Regions from separate parts of the Homo sapiens genome. Here all the other regions are linked to region 1. The links are contacts of gene promoters, found by promoter capture Hi-C in blood cells and fetal thymus (Javierre and others, 2016). All regions are on one chromosome and are shown on one strand. Each heading gives the region's core, a stretch centred on a gene start or on the middle of the fragment in contact. The rest is flanking DNA. Distances are from core to core; before and after follow the strand shown. Region 1 holds the start of HOXD12 (homeobox D12). Region 2 has its middle 200 kb from the start of ATP5MC3. Region 3 has its middle 180 kb from the start of LINC01117. Region 4 has its middle 110 kb from the start of ATP5MC3. Region 5 overlaps LINC01116 (long intergenic non-protein coding RNA 1116). Region 6 has its middle 170 kb from the start of ATP5MC3. Region 7 has its middle 250 kb from the start of ATP5MC3.

Region 1 (2,700 bases), core at 80-2,579:
GAGGGGGAAAGGGAGAACGAATTGGGTGGAAACAGAAAAATCCAGGTACCGGGGAGCAAGAATGAGCGGTGGGTGCAAATGCCCCAGCCAGGAGCAAGGAGAGTTGGCCTCAGTCCCCCAACGTGGAAGCCTTAAGGCCAGCCAGAGTTGCACTGGTACTTCCGCACGTTTCTCACGGGCTTCTCAGGGACTGAGGAAAGCAAGGAGGCCCAACTGGCCTGGTCTGTAAATCTCTTGGTGGCTTCTGGGGCCAGCAGAGAAGGAACCGAAGGAAAAGCCTTAGCCTTAGCCCCAGATCCCCCTCCCCAAACAAGGCCTCTGTCCAAAAGGGCAGATCCAACCCGGCCCTGGCCACGCGCGCGGCTAGTAGAGCGCCAGCGCCTGCTCCCGAAGCACCACGCGCTTCTTCTTCATACGCCTGTTCTGGAACCAGATTTTGACTTGCTGGTCGCTGAGGTTCAGCCTATTGGACAATTCCTTGCGTTTCTGCCTGTTGATGAATTCGTTGACGAGGAATTCGTTCTCCAACTCCGCAATCTGCTGCTTCGTGTAGGGTTTCCGCTTCTTGCGGGCCCTCCCCGGGGCCGCCCCCCACGGCAGGCCTGCAACACAGCCCCAACCCACGTCAACCCAGCCCGTACTCTGTCTATTGCCCGCCCCCAGGCGGTTCACCTCCCCTTACACTCTCCCTTGAACCCCACCTCCCATCCCGGCCCAAACCGGCCCGGGGAGCATGGGCACCGTTTACCGTCGGGCAGTGAAGGTCGCAGGCAAGAGGCAACGCCCGCCGCCTGCACTGTCATGTTCAAGTTGAGCGGGCCCTTGGTGTCGTCCTTGAAGCCAGGGGCGCAGGGAGCCCCCTGGAGCAGGGTCGTGGAGCCCGGCGTGGCACGACCCACACCAGCGTAGTCATACTTGGCCGCTTTGAGAGCAGCCACTGCAGGAGCCAGGCTAGACTCGGGGGCGAAGGACGGCCGGGTACGACCGCGCTCCTCTGGCCCAGCGGCCGCTTCGGGCGCATAGAACTTAGCCTGCTCTTCGGGTCCGTCTTTGGCTGTTGGGGGCTGCAGGCCGAGAGGCCCGGAGCCAGCCAGGTAGGGCTGCGAGAAGCCGCCGAAGGCAGTGGCGCCCGCAGGCTGCGCGGGGGCGCAGGAGGCGGGCGTGGCGGCCCAGGGCAGCGCGCCGCGCGGGTAGGAGATAGGGGGAAGCGCGGCCAACTGGCCGCCATTCGGCCTCAGGTTGGAGAAGTAGAAAGAGTCTGGCGACTGCAGATTCAGAAGCGAGCCCACATAGCCCGCTCTGTAGAGACTGCGCTCACACATCTCCAACAAAGGGCTTCGGCTGCGCTCGCAACAGTATTTAGTTACAACCGGGAATAAGAGGACAGGCTCAGACGATTGGACGAAACTTTGCCTGCAGGTTCTTCAAAGCCGGTCATTTCAGCACCGCCTACATCCCCCCGACCCGTTTTCCCCCCCTTCAGAGTATTATGATAACACCCGCAATGTTCGATGGCGAAGGACGAGGCTGCCAGCAGAGCCAAATCAGGTTGAGCGAAGACTAACTGTCTGCGGGTTTCCAGGCCCGGCTTCAGCAGCTGGGGACATCGGGCAAGAGGGTGACTCTGCCCAAGTGTCCCCTGGGACTCTTCTTGGTCGTGATTGGCTTTGCGATTCGTTTTCCGCAGGCTTTCTGGGCCCGGCTTGCTTCTACCGGCTTTAAGTTGCAGCGGAGGCATTTTCCATTAACCGGCGCCTCTCGACTTATCCGGAGAGGGCGCGGTCCGGCGGCACCAGGAGCTCTGTCCCTTGGCCTGAGCAATGTCACTTTTACCCCAATCACTCCCACAGAGAGGGTTTCTCCAGAGACCTCTGCCTGAGGATCTGGCAGCAAAGACCCATTCGCTACTTGAGCCCTCAGTCCCAGGCCGCAGACACAAAAAGGGCATCACAAACTACCCAATTTTGGGATCCAGGAAGGAGGCCACACTATTTCTGGTTTGTGTCCCCATGGCTAAGAACTCTGATCATAGGGAAATTGCCATACAGGTCCATGGAGAATGTCCGCCAGGGAACCCATCAGCTCGATCCACCAATCGTGGCCAAAGGCTACATTCCTTTTATCTTCAGGAGTCCTCTCCAGGACTACACACTGCAAACCAGAACTCCGAGGTGTCCCCATCCACCAAGTGGAGGGCAAAGCAGGACGAACTCCCCCGACTGGGTGTGGAAAGGCAGAAGAGCCAGAACCACCTGGCCGGGGAACAGCGGGCGTTCGGAGGCAGCTGGCTAGCAGAGTTCCTTGCCTCAGCGCCCCCAGGGGTGCCGGGGATAGGGAGTTCACGGGTCTGACAAACAGGGAAGTGGGAAAGGCAGCAGTTCTTAGCCGGGAGCGGTGTGCTCAGACCCCGTCGCTGGCCCTCTTGCCTAGTCCGGCCAGAGGACTAGGGGTCCTCCCCTCCTGCCTCTGATCCCAAGACCCTGGGAGACCCGGTGACCGGCGCCAGTCTCAGCCTGCAGCAGGACCCTCGGTCTCCGAGCCAAGCTGGAATTGGTTAGATCGCGGGCTCCTGCACTGAGACCACACAGGCGCCGCCGGAGGGCAAGACTGACCGCCGCGCTGCCACTTTATTGTGTGAGTTATGGCGACCAATTGGGTGGCTCTGGGGAACGCAATCGGCCTCTTCCTCCTGCTCTGGTG
Region 2 (2,700 bases), core at 65-2,564, 720 kb after region 1:
GCGGTGGCTCACACCTCTAATCCCAGCACTTTGGGAGGCCAAGATGGGCAGATCACCTGAGGTCAGGAGTTCGAGACCAGCCTGACCAACATGGAGAAACCTCGTCTCTACTAAAAACATAAAATTAGCCAGGCATGGTGGTACACGTCTGTAATCCCAGCTACTCAGGAGGCTGAGGCAGGACAATCGCTTGAACCTGGAAGGCGGAGGTTGTGGTGAGCCGAGATCTCGCCATTGCACTCCAGCCTGGGCAACAAGAGTGAAACTCTATCTCAAAAACAAAAGATTCCTTATATGCAGGAAACCATGGCTCATACTTCTTTTTCTCACTTGAACATAGCTGGACACATCATCATCAATAAGTATGTATTTATTTATAAGTTCATCTTCAATTTCTAAGGAAACAAAAATATAGTTTGTTGTTAAAATACACACACAGAGAAATATGAGTTTATTCCCATACTATACTATTGTTCAATGTATTTTGGGTTTGGATCCAACAATTAAGGATCTATCTATGGGTCTGCATAAAACTATTTCTTCCCATTACCCCATTCCAACAATAAAAGTCATCATGATTTAAATTCAATAAATTACAGTATCCCTATTTTACCCCTGGAATATTCATGGCACCCACTGATCTTCTAGGGCATGGCAGCTGGGATAAGGAGCTCCAAGAAGAGCAATCATACTTCCTGTCTCCCTATTCATTGTCCGTCTTCCTAGCATGTAAGTACTCCCTCCTCAGTCATCTCCCAAAGAAATCTGATGGACAGCTGTCTCTGGAGGTACTCAGAACCCATTCATGAAAGGCAGGAAGTGGCATAAACAAACAAAAGCTATTTTAATGGACTGAACTGACTTCCAAACTTCAACAAAATACATTTTACTTTGGTTTGTTTTCACATTCTAAAGAGCAATTGTGACAGTTTTGGTCTTTATCTCCATGCAACTCTGCCTTCATGGATGGAGACTGACAAAAATTATCTGAAATTTCATAGCTACTGGGTGTTAAAAAGTATGCACACAGTAAACAAACTCATTCTTGTGGGCAGAGAGTTCTGACTTTTATTGGTTTCTGAAGTTAAAAACTACTTAATAACCCCGTCTTTGTTTTTCTATGGGTAGTATTTATACCCCAAAGTAGAAGTTAGGATAAAGCATTCCTTTAGAGATTACCTTAGTAAGCCTGCCCTGCAAATCCTAAGGACCTAGAACATGTTCTAAAATTATGTTTCAAAATTGGATTTGTCTAAGTTTTAAACATCTAGCTCTAACCTTATATCCCCTCATTTTGAGCTTTAACCACTATTCAGTATTTATGGAAAACAGCTCTAAGTTAATGAAAGAGAATATATACCATTAAAAATCTATATGCCGATTAGATTTATAGGGCATAATTCAATAATTTTTTATAAAGCAATAAAAACACTTGCCAACTCTCATGAAAAACAACCATATGTTTTGGTTTTAATAATGAAAATGTTTTATAAATAAGCTCCAATTATGGTCTGTATTATTTGAAAAGCATTGAATCTTTTCCTCTTCCAAGTATATTTTTTCTCTATTTTTTGAGGCAGTCTTAATAATTTACATGTAAATTTATAGTATTTCCAGGGTCTTTTTTAACCACAAAAAAGACATTCACTTTTTTTTCTTTTAGTTTCCAGTGTTCCCTAAAAGGACACTTTTAAGTTAGATGACTAATATATCAATTATTATTTATCTTTCTAAGAATTACTTTTATCTGTGGATTTCAAAGCAAATTAAATCATAACCACAGATTATTCTATCAAATTTAAGGACAGATTCATTCCATGAATTAATATGCCCATTTAAATTATATGAAAATAAAACTTTTGATGTATTTTATATATCCCCATATCAGTTATGTGTAAGTATAAAATACTGCCATATTCTTTCTGGAAAACAACTTGGTAATATGTATTAAGAGCCTCAAAAAGGTTCTTGCCCTTTGACCCAATGTCTATCATAAGGACATAATCACCAAGGCTTACCAAAATTTCAATATGACTGTTTATTACAGTGTTATTTACAATAGTAATAAACTAGAAATATCGGCAATGTCCAACAATATAGGCCTGGTTAAGTGGCTTATGGTCAATCCATTTGATGGAAACTGTACAAACATTAAAATTAAAGTTTTAAAAGAACATTTAAAGCATGAAGAAATGCTTATGAAAAACGTCAAGTTAAAAAAAGACAAAACTGTATATGCTAGTGTTTGACAGTTTTACAAAATTGGAATTATGGTCTATATACCATAAATGGACAAGAATGGGCACACAAGAATGGAAACACACCAAAATATTGATCTCGGTTTTCTTTGAGTAGCAGGATTATGAGTCATTTAGAAGTTTCTCTTTGTATTTTTCATATTTTCTACAATGAATATCTATGATTTTTATAATCAGAAATGTTATTAAAAATAATATTGCAAAAAGTCTAGCAAAAAAGTTATAGCTGAATAAATAATATTGAAGAAAATGACTTACTGAGATAGAAAGTTGTTTATATATAAGCGAAAAAAGTATGTCAAAAACATTTTGCATAATACGCTCCAATTTTTAAGTATATATATGAATTTGCATAGAAAAAAGTTGGAAGGATATTTTTATATAAAATATAAACAACAATTATCTTGAGGTTGCATAGAAAAAAGTTGGAAAGATATATTTA
Region 3 (2,700 bases), core at 47-2,546, 720 kb before region 1:
CAGCTATAAACTAGAGTTAGCATACACTTCTGGACTTCCTGGAACTTCAAAACTTGAGGTCGTGGGATCACTCATCTGAGAGTGGGTACATGCTTATCTCTGATCCCTTGATAGGGCCCAGTCTAAAGGAGGAAAAAGCTAACAAAATCAGTCTGACACAGTGATAGTTAAGAACTGAGATTTCAAATCCAGGCCGGTTCTGAGTTTGGATCTTGACTATCCACTTAAGAGCTTGTGTGACCTTGGGCAAGTTATAGAACATCTTTAATCTTTAATTTCCGATAGATGAGAATTAAAATAGTATTTGTCTCATAAGCTTGTGAGAATTAAAGGAAGTGATGATACTTAGCATAGTGCCTGGCTCATGTAGGTGGTCAGAAAACATTAACTGTTACTAGCAGCTGCTTTTGTTAATAGTTCAGGGTAACAAGCATGTAGAGTGTGAGCCACAAGCAAAGCACTGTGCTAGACACAGCAAAGTATGTGTGTATGAGAGAGAGAGAGAATTAGGATGTAAGAGTATAGTGGAGCGAGAAGAAGCAGGATAGAAAAAACACAAAGATAGCTAAACATAGATAACTAAAATGAAACAGGTAACATTTATTTGTGGGCATACTCTGTGAAAGGCACTGCATAGATAGATCTTTACATAATTGATCTCATTTAATGTTCACATGACCCTCTGGGTAGGCATTATTATCTTCATTTTATATTTGAAGAAAATAAGCCTTAGATCAATTAACCTGCAGTGGCTAACACATGGAGCTAGGGAAGTGGAGGGAGTATCGGGCTGTGAGGTTAAGCTTGACTGGAGCACAGGAGAGGACTGGCTGTGTGGTATGTTCCCAGGTGTTCCAGGGAAGCCTCGATTACCAGCACAGGTGGTCATTGCCCATACAGAGTCCAAGACCATCTGTAATTTTGGCCACACAGTCCTTAATGATGTGCTATTTGACGAAGAAATAGGAGACTACCTTGAGGCGGACACCATGTCTTTGAGATACTGAAAGACTAAAAAACACATTCAGGATGTGCTGAAGCACAGCTTCAAATCACGCAGCAAATCTACGACATGCCAGGAAATGGCAGCCAATGGCAAACCAGCCCTGTCTGAGGGCCACTGGTGAAAATGTCATGGTGTTCCATGGTTGACCACTAGATGAAGCCCTGCTGGGCAGGATACCACCACCTGGGGAGGATAATGGTTGAAACCCAAACCAACCCCTCCTCATCCCTGCACCTCCACAACCTAGAGAAGATTTTAGGATGTGTATTCATCTTTCCAACACTATAAGGCTAAGACCACCACCAATAGCATAGATCCCATTCCCACTAATATGCTTTATTATGAGTTCAGAGAAAATATAAAGTATAAGGAAACCTGAAAACTTCCAGGTCCTTCTAGACTTTTGTCCCATTAACACTTTGGGGGAAAAAGCAATCTCCATGTAAAATCTCCATTAAAATAACCTTGTGGGCTTATCTGAAATTAGCACCTTCACAGTTTTTGTTCTGACTGTTGGTTTAGTTTGCCTACTGTGCCTTGATCTTATACTTGATATGCCTCTCTAATCAGATAAGAAAATAGTTGAAGCATTTTTGGACTGTAGACCAACATTAATGTTATTCAAAAATAGGAGTTAGGCATGGGGCTCAGATTTTTACCTTTTTTATTTGTGTATGATTTAGTGTTCATCCTGCACTAGACACTAAAATGCATTGTTTAATTATCTGAGCTCAACACACCATTTTATAATTCATTAGTCAGTTGCTCTTTGCAAAAGCTTATTTCTTATGAAACAAAAGTGGGAATCATGCAACTGGACTATTTATCTCTCTTTAGGGGTTGGGGGTTAATATCTGATAGCTCATAACATCTTTATTATAATGCATTTATAATGATTTACTGGAATCATTCTATGGCTAAGTATCTAATGTCAAAGCTGGGATCTGGCATGAAATAAAATGCTGTATCCTTGGGTAGCTCTAGGGAAAAAAAGGCCCCAGCCAATATTTTCTGTGTAATTCTACAAACTGTAATAAGGGTAGGGGTAATTGCCTTAATGTCAATTAAGCTATTAATAATGTTCATCTTGTCATTCCTAAATATAGCAGTGTCTCAATCATACATTACTGTCCCCTGTTAAGGCTACACAGAAATGAGATCACAGCCTCTGTGGATCAAGAAGTCTGTCTAGCAGCCAGTCTTATTTCCTTTACATAAGGGAAGGTTTGGGGGTTTATTTGGTGTTAATGAAAAATTTCTACTTAGACACACATATGTATTTGTGAGGACAAGCTCTGGTGATTCTTGTGAGCAGGACAAATTCAGTCTTAGAAGCTAAACTGTTCCCTGTTCCTATTCTGCTCCTGATGACCATGAAAGGTGCTCCTGATCAGGACTCGTGTTCCAGGGTCCCGATAAGGTCTGAGGACCCAGACAGTTCAGTAGCAATCATACATGCATTTTAGCAAAGTGTGTGGGAACTAACAAAGTTAGGGAGCACTTGTTCAAGCTACACATAGTGCTGCGTTGTGTGCGTGTTGTTCCCAGGCCACGTGGATGCACGCAAGTTCCTCAAGGACAGAGAAACTACAGGACAAAGAAAATGAGGCTGAGACATTGTCACTGAGACAAGAGGTCAGTGTTTCATCAGCAAATTTCAGCAAAGTCAAGGGTAAAGTCATATTTGGAAGAAG
Region 4 (2,700 bases), core at 59-2,558, 810 kb after region 1:
CCTGATTACCACAAAGTGCATAAGTCTGAGATGGAGCAACATATAAGTGATGTCAAATTCAGGAGTCTAATCTCATTTAAACCAGTAACTTTAATTTGATCCATAACATACACTATGTCCCTAAGTCTTACCTCTATATGTGGCCAAGAAAGTATAAATCAATCACTATTATCCATTATAAACACTAGAAAATAAATCAAAAGAAATGCCAAATTAGCAGTGGGTAGATAATAATTATATTTCTGTATAGTTCTAATAAATTAAGGTAGAAAAAATAATCAGAGCTCATTGTAAATTATACCAGTGAAAAATAAAAAGAAAACTTTTGTCTTTCTTTGATATTTAGTAACAACTATTTTGGGTGAAGTTCGTGGTCTTAAATTGAAAAAAAAAATAGGTCTGTTAGTTATTATAATTTTAAAAATTATGAAGTTTAGAAATAATTCTGTAATCTTAAACCAACAGTCAATGTTATACATAATTACAATACACTAGAGCATTTTTCTTGATAGCCAGTGGGGAAACATTTAAGGTTTTTAAGAGGTGTAATGTAGAGATCAAAACTGATGCCTTAAGAATTTGAATCTTACAGTAGCATAATGTATAAATGAAAATGGAGAAGAACTAGAGGTAGGAATACCAATTATGAATTTAAGTGTAGGGATTTCTGGTCAAGAGAGTGGAGTAGCTCACACCAAACACCCCTCGGCTCTACCTCACCACCACTATCACTATGACCTCGAAACAAGAAAGAAAGAGATAAAAATAAGAAGAGAAAATTTTTAAAAGGCAGAGTTATACTCAAAATCAAGACAAATATCTTGACAATGAGAATAGAAGGGGAATTAAATTCATGAGGGGGAAGGAAGACTGAACATTTCCCACAAGGGGAAGGGAATCAGAGATTGGATGGGGTTGCCCATCCCAGGAACAGAAGTTGAGGTTCTGGGATGAATGAGCAACATCCCCCCAGGGTAACAGCTCTAAGTTGCTCACATAACTTAAGACCTGGTTATGGGCTGGAGTCTGCAGGAGACAGCTACAAAATCACTAAAAGAAAGGCTGAGCTCAGGAAGAGAACAAATACAAACAAAATCAAATTTCCACTTAAAATGAGTTTGCAAATGAGAGTTACAAAGCACATAAAGAAAAATTCACCCAATGAAAGACAGTCAACAAACTCAAGGGACAGAAGAATTTACTTTTATTTTGGAAATTGAAACAATAGAGTAATTTTAAAAGAACATTTGTGAGATCCTCAGATATATTTTCTTTTAAAACAACAGTAGGTTATAAAATAAAGCAGGCAGCTCTGAATCAAGTGCAGGGATATTTAAAAGAAGATTCAGAAATCCTGGAAATGAATATAATCATTGCAATTTTATAAAACCCTTAAACAGATGGATAAATTTTAACTAGTCATAGTCAAAAAGAAAACTGGCACATCTGAACAGGAAAACGATTGCAAAAATTGAGGTAGAGGTAACAAACGTCGAAGTAAGGTAATGGCAGGAGAAATGTACAAGCTAAAAAACATTATAGAAGCATAGAAATAAGTAGGCTCTGCCACTGTTAGGCAGTATTCATTGAGACTTAATTCCATCTAAACCTTGCCAAAGGCTGACCGTGGCTATGGCCATTTGAAATTCTTCTATTTGTGGAGCCTCATTAATGCCAAAAGAGGACTGAAAAGATGAGAAGTAGACCTTCAGTCTGTCCATCAGCAGCCAACAAAAATAAAATGAACTTACAATGAAAATTCCTCGTTATTTGTGTCTGTAGCAATAAGAAATCTTTATTTAAGGATCAAGGAAGTTCATTAGAACTCTCCATTATCTGGCTGTTTTCTGCTTAAGTCCACAAATAAATAGTTTTAACATGAAATACTTACTACATATTTCTACATTTAGTATACATTATATATTTATTACATATTTACATGTTACTGTATTATTCCCTCTTACGTTTTAGGCCAGGCATGGTGACTCACGCCTGTAATCCCAGCACTTTGGGAGGCAGAGGCGGGCAGAACACGAGGTCAGGAAATCAACACCGTCCTGGCCAACATGGTAATACCCCATCTCTATTAAAAATATAAAAATTAGCTGGGTGTGGTGGTGCATGCCTGTAATCCCAGCTACTCGGGAGGCTGAGGCAGGAGAATTGCTTGAACCCAGGAGGCAGAGATTGCAGTGAGCTGAGATCGTGCCACTGCACTCCAGCCTGGTGACAGAGTGAGACTCCATCACAAAAAATAAATAAATAAATAAAAAGTTTTAGAATATCCTCCTTCGTATCAATAAAGTGATTACAAAATGATGAGTATTGGAGTATTGAGACTGTAAGAATTTTTTTTTAAAAGACAGAATTACAGTTTAGTTGAAAAGTTAACATGTAAAGTAAGAATGTGATAGAGAAAATGAAATTATTTATATTAAAACAAAGTTTAGAAATAAGTTAGAATTCCTTTAAAAAGAAACATTTTTCCAGCTCTACCACTAAAGATGTCCCGAGAGAAGCCGCAGCATCTTTGCTCAACTCTCAAGTTTTGAGGCAGGGAAAAATCAGAACAGACTTGGAGCATCCCAGAGTACTCAGACTTTAGTCTCCGATACTGTTCTTTATTAGAAAGAATCAGAACTACTTGGAGGATAGATGGTTCCATGTTTTGAGGCAGGGAAAAATCAGAACAGGCTTGGA
Region 5 (2,700 bases), core at 177-2,676, 530 kb before region 1:
TGCTCTTTTTTTTTTTTTAAATTGTCTTCAGTGAAACTCCAAAACCCCAATAATATCTACCTTAAAAGCATCAGGAGTATTTTAATTGGGCAATAACCATCCATATTTTCCTTCTGATAAATTAAAATGAATTAAGAATGAAATTTTATGATGATTATAAAGTATATTACTGACCCAAGGGACAAGAACAATTATGAAAAATATGTCCTACATATTTGGCATGAATATGAATTTAGACTTTAAACCATTCATCTTAAATGCTCAAGCATCTTATTAAAGCTTATAAAATAATATTCACATAATAACAGAGTAACTTATAATCATGATTGATATTATATCATCAATATTGCAGCAGGCTTTGTGCCAAATACTGAAATTGACTTGGTCTTTGCCTGTTGGACTTAGAATAAAAATAAATACATTATTAAAAAGATGAAACATGGTAAAAGATTTTGTGCATTTGAGATTTTTTTTTCTTTCTCCAATTAAAATTATTCACCATGAGAACGAAAGGTGATTTTTGAAAAACCTGGAAAACCTAGTGAGTTGGAATTGTACTACTAAATGTTGGAAGATCTGATCAAAATTTAACTTTAATAGCCAGCAGCTGTTTGAGGACAAGTTCACCTTACATGAATGTGGGTGGTCATTTGAGGGTAACCCACCAAGCTTAGCCTAGCGGTGGCCAGGCCCTAAAATAGGAGTCATCTTGGAGAGCAAGAGCATTTCTGTATTTGAGTTAATGCTACCCACCAGCAATCAAGATCAATTAACTCTTGTAGTAAACTTTTTAAATGAATTGGAGATGACTACAGAAATTGCCAAAGACAATGTGGGCAAAAATGGATGGGCTAAGTGAAGGGGCTGCCTGTATCAGCATTTACTTAGGCCCAGCCCCACAAAGCCCTAGCAGTTGCCATTCAGACACCTGTATGTTAACATTAAGACCTTTAGAGCATATGTTTAACTGTGAGTATTTTCTTCCACATAGGTATTGGCACTTTTTAGCATGACCTACCTTTGTGTGTCATGCTAAAAAGCATATATGACTAATAGAACACACACATTTAACTTATTATGGGCCTGGGTTTCCCGGGTTTCAGCTTCAGTGTATGTCCCCTGGCAGGTTTCTTAACTGGTCTGAGCCTAAGTTTCCTCATTTATAAAACAAAGGCAGTAAGTGGTGCCTTTTTGCAATATTAAAATTAGTATTAAATGGCATAACGTTCACAAAATATCTGGAACAGTTTGCCATCAGTAAATATCTGCTACTGCAGTTGCAAGGGAAAAACAAGATTGAATCTTTGTTCTCAGTTTCTCATTATATAAAATTTTAGAGATTATTTAAAGAAAAGAGAGAGAGCATCTAAATGAACAGTTTCAATAGCATCTTGTTTATATTCAGAAATACAGCCCTGAACTCAAACTTGAAACTTCAGTGTTAGCCAACCTTCCCTCCTCCCATCACCACCTGAAGGAAAATATCTTTGTGTAGCACAAAAGAACTTAATTCTAATTCTTTTTTTTTCCTTTTAAAACAGGGTCTCACTCTGCCATCACCCAGGCTGGAGTGTGGTGGCACCATCATGGCTCACTGCAGCCTTGAACTCCTGAGCTCAAGTCATCCTCCCACCTCAGCCTTCCGAGTAGCTGGAACTGCAGGTGTGAGCCACCATGCCTGGCTGATTTGTCTTTTTAAATTTTTTATAGAGACCGAGTCTCAACTATATTGTCCAGGCTGGAAAAGAACTTCTTTCCCTCCAAGTGATAACCTTTTCCAGACAAGTCAGCTTAAAAACTGACCCAAAGGCCCTGAAGTACACAGTTTTCTTGGAGAAAGAAAAAAATAAGTGAAAAGGACTTGCTGACTTGCTAATTCATTTTGGGGCCTGTGGGTAACATCAGAATGGCAAAGCACTTGGGGCTTTTTTCTAATTTGTATTTTTTTAATCTTCTGAGAAATGACTTTTATATGCCAAGATTCATTCCATGATTAGTTTTTATGACCAAGTTATGAACGCTTTTGAATATGGGGACCTAGAATAGAAATGCTAACCTACCTGCAAGGAGAGCTCTGTGATTGGCATCCCCATCATGCTGTAACTGACACAAAATAAACTTAGGGTAATTGCCGCATAGTGTAACTTTAATGTGTGAGCATACTGTAACATCTGACAAGCTTCTTGATCTAGATCAGCAATGTGTAACCCATTCATTGTTGTCACTCTCAACAAGGCCTTATGGTCAAACATCATCACTCTCACTAAAGAGATAGTTTACTGAAATATACTGAGATTTTGAAACTGGAGTCAAGAGGTAGCACACTGTTTTATGTTGATCCATTTAATGGTCCTTGACAGCCAATAAAAAGACACTGGAAGAATACGTGAATGCAGTAATTGTTAATAGGTCTATTGATAATATTTTCAACACCAGGTAGGGAGGGAGACAGGGAGGAGGAGGAAAGGAAGGAAGGGAGGAAAGGAGGAAGGGAGGAAGGGAGGGAGGGAGGGAGGAAGGGAGGGAGGGAATGCTCTGACATCTTACTCCAGAAATAGAGCTGTTTTTATATATTTTACTCCATTATTTTGGATATCAATACTGACCATACTGAGGTCTGTGGTCATTTACACAGTTGGCCAAATTTCACTGAAGTTTGTTTTTCAGATTCTACTAGGTGTTTTCATGTGGCAGTTGCCT
Region 6 (2,700 bases), core at 144-2,643, 750 kb after region 1:
AGGCTAAAAGACATGGCATTAAATCTGTGTTCAGGTTATAAAGCTACAACCATGTGGAAAAGTTCGGTGTCCTTACCTTAACACTTACTCTAAGAGCTGTCCTGACACATCAAAAGATTTAATTAATTTGATCTTTCATTAGCTAAGGGGGAAAAATGCAGACAAAAAAGGATATGGTAAAAAAAAGAAAAGAAAAAATTTAATTCACTAAATTACCCAAATTATACATATCCTATGAGAACATTGGAAAGATTACCTCTATCAGGGTGAGCACCATTTAAAGTATTGTTATAAATTGTTCAAATCCTAGATTGTAGATCTATTTTGGAACTTTCAGGAGAGATGCATTAATATATATTTTTGTTCTTCAGAGGTATCCTTATATGTAAAAAGAATGGTGGCACTTCTGACATGTGATTTCAGGAAAAAAAATCTACATTCATTACACCATATATATATTATCCCACTCCTCATTAAACTTCCTAAGGAATTTTATATTCTTACCATTTTATACATAAGAAAACTGAAGCCCAGAAAATTTTAGCGCATTGCCCAAGATCACAGAATTCTAAACCAGGTCCATCTATCTGCCTGCAATGCCCTGTTGATACTATGTTGCCTTCCTCGAGCTCCCAGCAGCTGTCCTCGGTCCAATTCAACATAAAGAACAAACCCCTATCTGCTGGGTCTAGTCCTTGGACTTCCTTCTCATGAATAAAGCCCTTTGCCCCATAAGCAGAGATAAGATTTAAAATTTTAAAGTCCCAGAAGACTATTTCCATGTGTTAATTTACATGAAGGCACAAATGTCTAATTTTACAAACTTTTTGTGAAGGGAAGTTTTGGTAGGAGTAAGGATCCTGTAGAAATGATTATTCATATCTACCCAGCACCCCTATAGAAGCCTCTCCCACCCCCAAGTAGTAATATAGTTTAGGCTGCATCACTTACTATTTTATTCCCTTGCCATAGCAATTGGTCCATGGGCTGGAACAATATCATATAGATTTTGAAGCCACATGCTACACACGGCAGCCTGGGTCCCTTAATAACTGCATGGAGCAGAGCCAGCTGCCCTCCCCTGTCTCAAGCCACCCCATCATCCTGTAATACCCACTCTACACTGTTGTGTAAGAAAAAGACTTTTTTTTTGTTAAAGCCATTGTATTTGGGGGTATATCTGTTATAAAAATTTAGCCTACAATAAATAATGACAGGTATCAGTAAATGTTAATTTTATTACCACCTCCGTTCCTAGATTTTCCCCTTTAGAATGCTTCAAGGTTCCTGGTAATTTTATTAGGGTTCCTTTAAAATCATTATGAATCTACAACTATAGCAGATGTTATGGTTTGAATGTTCCTGCCAAAACTCATGTTGAAATTTAATTGCCATTATAACAATGTTGAGAGGCCCTACAAGAGGTGATTAGGGTCATGAGGGCTCTGTCTTCATGAATGAATTAATTTCATTATCTTGGGTTTGGGTTGATTATCAGGAGAATGGGTTTGTTATAAAAGTAAATTTGGCCTGATTTCCTCTCTCGGCCTCTCCTGCTCACTTCTACCTCTACCCTTCTGCTGTGGGATGACTGTCACCAGATGCTGGAGCCATGCTATTGGACTTTCCAGCCTCCAGAACCATGAACCAAGTAAACTTCTTTTCTTTATAAATAACTTAGTCTGTGGTATTCTGTTACAGAGGCAGAAAATTGACTAAGACAATAGATATGTAAAAGTGGCCACTTTTATAAATAATAAAAACAATTTAAATACCAAAATATATACATATTTTAAAAAATAAAAAATGAAAATATTCAATCATCTTCCTTTTACCAAATTTCTTTCCAGGCACCTAGGGTAAGGTTAGACTTACTAAAGAGCAACCTAATATGGAAAAAAATCAGTACTTTTTTTCTTTGATAGCAACCCAATACCTGAACTTAAGGAGAAAAAAATACTCCCCTTCTACTACATAAACATGTAAATAGTATCTCTTCTTCCATTTTTACTTCTCCACTGGAGAAGTCCATCAGACTATCCAGTTTATTAGTTGAAAAGCTAAACCAGAGTTTGGACTCCTGATTTATAAGTAATGAGTTTGGGAACTCTAATGTGACTTGTCTTCAGTGATTTGGGCCATATCTGACACTAGCTGCATACTTCCCTATCATAAATGACCCAGCATAAGTAAACCCAGTTACAGCACCTAACATCTCTTAGCAGATAAATTTGAAAAGACACATTGTGCATATCAGTAGCTTTAAACTTGGAATGCTTTGGATCCCAGAATTGAACTCAAAAGCCAATTTAACCCATAGTACAATGATTTTCCAAACGTGGTTCATGGACCAGCAGCATCAGCATCACCTGAGGCTTGAACCCCAGACCTATGGAATCAGAATTCTGGATTGTGGCCAAAGCTGCAATGCAAATGTATTGTCATAATTTACCAAAACACCAGACCTATGTGATCAAAAGTGAATTATACCAAGCACATATACCACCCAGATCTTCGTTTCTAATACTATTCTACGATAAAAGGAACCAGCTCTCCTTGGAAAAATGGCTGTTTCTAGCACTGCACAGGAAATATACAATATGAGCCTGGAACATCTTGTAACATCAGAAAGTAAGGAAGTGCTTTAAAAAATATAGAGATATGTAAAAAAAAAAAAATAGAGTAGCTAACTGAAAGAGC
Region 7 (2,700 bases), core at 42-2,541, 660 kb after region 1:
ACATAAACCTCTGCTTGCATCATATTTGTTAGTGTAAATTGGCCCAAACAAGTCACAAAGCCAAGCCGTGTGCAAGGGAACCAACCAAGGGCATGGATAAAGAAAGGTAGATACTTTGTGGCCATCTTTACAATCTCCACATTTCTTCTATTGTCTGGAAGAAGCACAGCATTTGTCTTAAGAGGGCATTTTGAGGAGACCTCCATTATTTCCATATATCAGAAAAAGACAATTAGAAACCCCCCAAAAATTAAAACTTGAGGTGTCTCCAGTTTAGCAGAGGAAATTCAAAAGAGCTCTCAGAAATAAGTAACAAGTCTACTTGGCAGTGAATAAAGGAAGTAGCTCATTTAGACTCTAATTATATTATACATATATATGTAATGTTCAGAGATTAGTCTTATTATTCAAAATAAGACTCTGAACATGTATATATTACATATATATAGTGTATACACACACCCACACGTTTCTATGTGATTCATTCAAATGTTTCTGTTTCTGCAAACATTTATTTTAAAAATGTGTATCAGACTGAAGTAGGTACTGAGAGTACAAATGTAGTTCTCTGCCCTCATGAAGCTTGGAGTCTAGCCGGCAAGACAGAGAATAAGAATTACATATTCACAATTTTCACAATGCTGCAAAGGGAAGATCCAGGGAGGATGGCACAAGGTCCCAGCCCAGTTACAGGGATGGTGGGAGTCTTCTCTGAGCCCTGAAAGATAAGCTGAGTCCTCCAAGTGAAGAAGAGGAGGAAAGGAAGGCTAGGCAGAGACCAGCATGAGAGGGAGAAACCCTTAAATGGGCTGTGTGGAAAGGTCTTCATTTTCTAATGACATGAATTAGATGATATGAGACATAAGAAAGTGCACTATTAACTGAACTAAGCTATATACACGTAAGTGCAATGTTGTAATCAACCATGTATTGCTCAATGTCAAACAGCATTTTCTAATTTATGGTTCTTACTGTTTATTCAATAACCAGAATGCATTAGATCAGGGTGCATGACAACCATCCCAACCCCCTCAACCCAGCTGTCTTACCTATGCTCAGTAAACCCACACAGGTAAGGGTCTTGTGAGGCCCTCACAGGGACTCATAATCTCTAAACATTTAGATTTTCAGGTTTTCCTGAAAAAACAAGAGATCTGGCAAAACTCAGATCTCATTTCCACATGGCAACAATTGGTAGAAGCTGCTCTGTTTAGTGCGGACACACTCTAGTTTGACAAATCTCTCCAGCCCCATTATTTCCTGCCTGGCCTGTGTGAGTATCTGTGTTTGCAGCTCCTAGATATTTCTCTGCCATAGGTATTTATTTTAAATGTAACTAACAATAATCGTACCCAGAAAACACTTTCAGATCTTGAATGATAATGGTTTTTGTTTGTTTTGTAGAAACAGGTTCTTGCTATGTTGCTCAAGCTGGTCTCGAACTCCTAGCTTCAAGCAATCTTCCTTCCTCAGCTTCCCAAAATGCTAGGATTACAAGCATGAGCCACCACGCCCAACCTTGAATGGCATTGTTAAGTCAGCATACATGGCTGCCATTTTTCTTATTTTCTTTCTTTTGTGATATTTTTGCTTTCTTTATAGAATTTTGATCTGTCATTGTCACAGTTAGAGTTAGTGAATAAAACGTGTGCCTATCACATCCAAAACAATTAGTTTTAAGCAGACCATTATAAGTATTTTCATAATTTTATTCATAGGACAATATGCTTACTTTATAACAATAAATCAGTCTGTGTTCCTTACTTTTTTCTTGTTTCATTTTGAAGTTTCTAATCTTTCAGGGTAATTACTATAATGACTGAAGGCATTTTTAAAGATTATTTCTTTAAGTTATGCTTCACATTTGTAAGGTGAATCAGAAATATAAACAATTATATGACTACATGACATATTTGTAATATGCCTATTTAATTGATTTTTAAAACCCACTTATAAGATTATTGCTATAGATGTTCTGCTTACGATAAATGTAAGCTTTTTCAAGATTTCACCACCTGCTTTATTTCCAGGCCCTCCTTTCATCTCTTATCTAAATCCTATTCATGTAGTCTGGTGGCGGACATTTCAGGGGTCTGACATCATTATTACGTTTTGAGAAATAACTTTAAGACAAACTTTACATTATACCCAGAATTAGCCATTCTATCAGCTTTTGTCATACTTTGTCTTAGGACAAATGGCATTTCTGTAGAAAGATGCCTGGCGGGATGTGGCTTTGAACTCCTTCATTCCCTAGACTCCTTTAAACATGTAGAGGAGGAATAAGGGTAATTTACTTCCTTACTGAGCTTGACAAACTAGTATTTTATGTAACTACTCCAATATGTAGTTTTAAAAATACTTTAAGGGCAATGTCCATCTCCTCCAAATAAAAATTATTATTACTGTAGATGAAATGCAATTAGGAAATTTTGTCTTCGTTTAACAACTTTAATGGTATGGATATAAAGGACGGATCATTGCTATGCAGCTAGGATAAACACGGAACTAAAGATTTATGTTTCGGCCCGGCGCGGTGGCTCACGCCTGTAATCCCAGCACTTTGGGAGGCCGAGGCGGGTGGATCATGAGGTCAGGAGATCGAGACCATCCTGGCTAACAAGGTGAAACCCCGTCTCTACTAAAAATACAAAAAAAATTAGCCGGGCGCGGTGGCGGGCGCCTGTAGTCCCAGCTACT

What was found. Contacts are between HindIII fragments. The CHiCAGO score rates a contact against its expected background, and 5 or more counts as called.
Region 2: a fragment that was not itself captured here is called in contact with the fragment with the promoter of HOXD12 in region 1 in 4 of 17 cell types (monocytes, M2 macrophages, megakaryocytes and 1 more); the score reaches 7.3 in monocytes.
Region 3: a contact is called between a fragment that was not itself captured here and the fragment with the promoter of HOXD12 in region 1, in 1 of 17 cell types (endothelial precursors). The highest score is 5.2, in endothelial precursors.
Region 4: a contact is called between a fragment that was not itself captured here and the fragment with the promoter of HOXD12 in region 1, in 1 of 17 cell types (M2 macrophages). The highest score is 5.1, in M2 macrophages.
Region 5: a fragment that was not itself captured here is called in contact with the fragment with the promoter of HOXD12 in region 1 in 2 of 17 cell types (fetal thymus and total B cells); the score reaches 9.3 in fetal thymus.
Region 6: a fragment that was not itself captured here is called in contact with the fragment with the promoter of HOXD12 in region 1 in 2 of 17 cell types (M0 macrophages and monocytes); the score reaches 6.9 in M0 macrophages.
Region 7: a fragment that was not itself captured here is called in contact with the fragment with the promoter of HOXD12 in region 1 in 1 of 17 cell types (M1 macrophages); the score reaches 5.1 in M1 macrophages.

Annotation. Positions count from the first base shown.
Region 1 is chr2:176,098,424-176,101,123 of GRCh38, reverse strand. It overlaps HOXD12 (homeobox D12), which reads right to left and starts at 1,329. Exons shown (of 2, transcript NM_021193.4): 1 at 749-1,329; 2 at 1-602. The coding sequence starts at 1,322. The coding sequence ends at 364. RefSeq lists an enhancer at 742-1,474. The HindIII fragment of the contact is 6,365 bases long and covers 1-2,700 here.
Region 2 is chr2:175,379,711-175,382,410 of GRCh38, reverse strand. No RefSeq gene overlaps it. Among named protein-coding and RNA genes, the nearest start is that of ATP5MC3, 200 kb to the right of the region's middle. The HindIII fragment of the contact is 5,863 bases long and covers 1-2,700 here.
Region 3 is chr2:176,819,994-176,822,693 of GRCh38, reverse strand. No RefSeq gene overlaps it. Among named protein-coding and RNA genes, the nearest start is that of LINC01117, 180 kb to the right of the region's middle. The HindIII fragment of the contact is 981 bases long and covers 806-1,786 here.
Region 4 is chr2:175,286,920-175,289,619 of GRCh38, reverse strand. No RefSeq gene overlaps it. Among named protein-coding and RNA genes, the nearest start is that of ATP5MC3, 110 kb to the right of the region's middle. The HindIII fragment of the contact is 5,516 bases long and covers 1-2,700 here.
Region 5 is chr2:176,629,274-176,631,973 of GRCh38, reverse strand. It overlaps LINC01116 (long intergenic non-protein coding RNA 1116), which reads left to right. Exons shown (of 5, transcript NR_188023.1): 3 at 1,542-1,662. Among named protein-coding and RNA genes, the nearest start is that of LINC01116, 7.0 kb to the left of the region's middle. The HindIII fragment of the contact is 1,510 bases long and covers 672-2,181 here.
Region 6 is chr2:175,346,213-175,348,912 of GRCh38, reverse strand. No RefSeq gene overlaps it. Among named protein-coding and RNA genes, the nearest start is that of ATP5MC3, 170 kb to the right of the region's middle. The HindIII fragment of the contact is 3,400 bases long and covers 1-2,700 here.
Region 7 is chr2:175,433,445-175,436,144 of GRCh38, reverse strand. No RefSeq gene overlaps it. Among named protein-coding and RNA genes, the nearest start is that of ATP5MC3, 250 kb to the right of the region's middle. The HindIII fragment of the contact is 1,413 bases long and covers 585-1,997 here.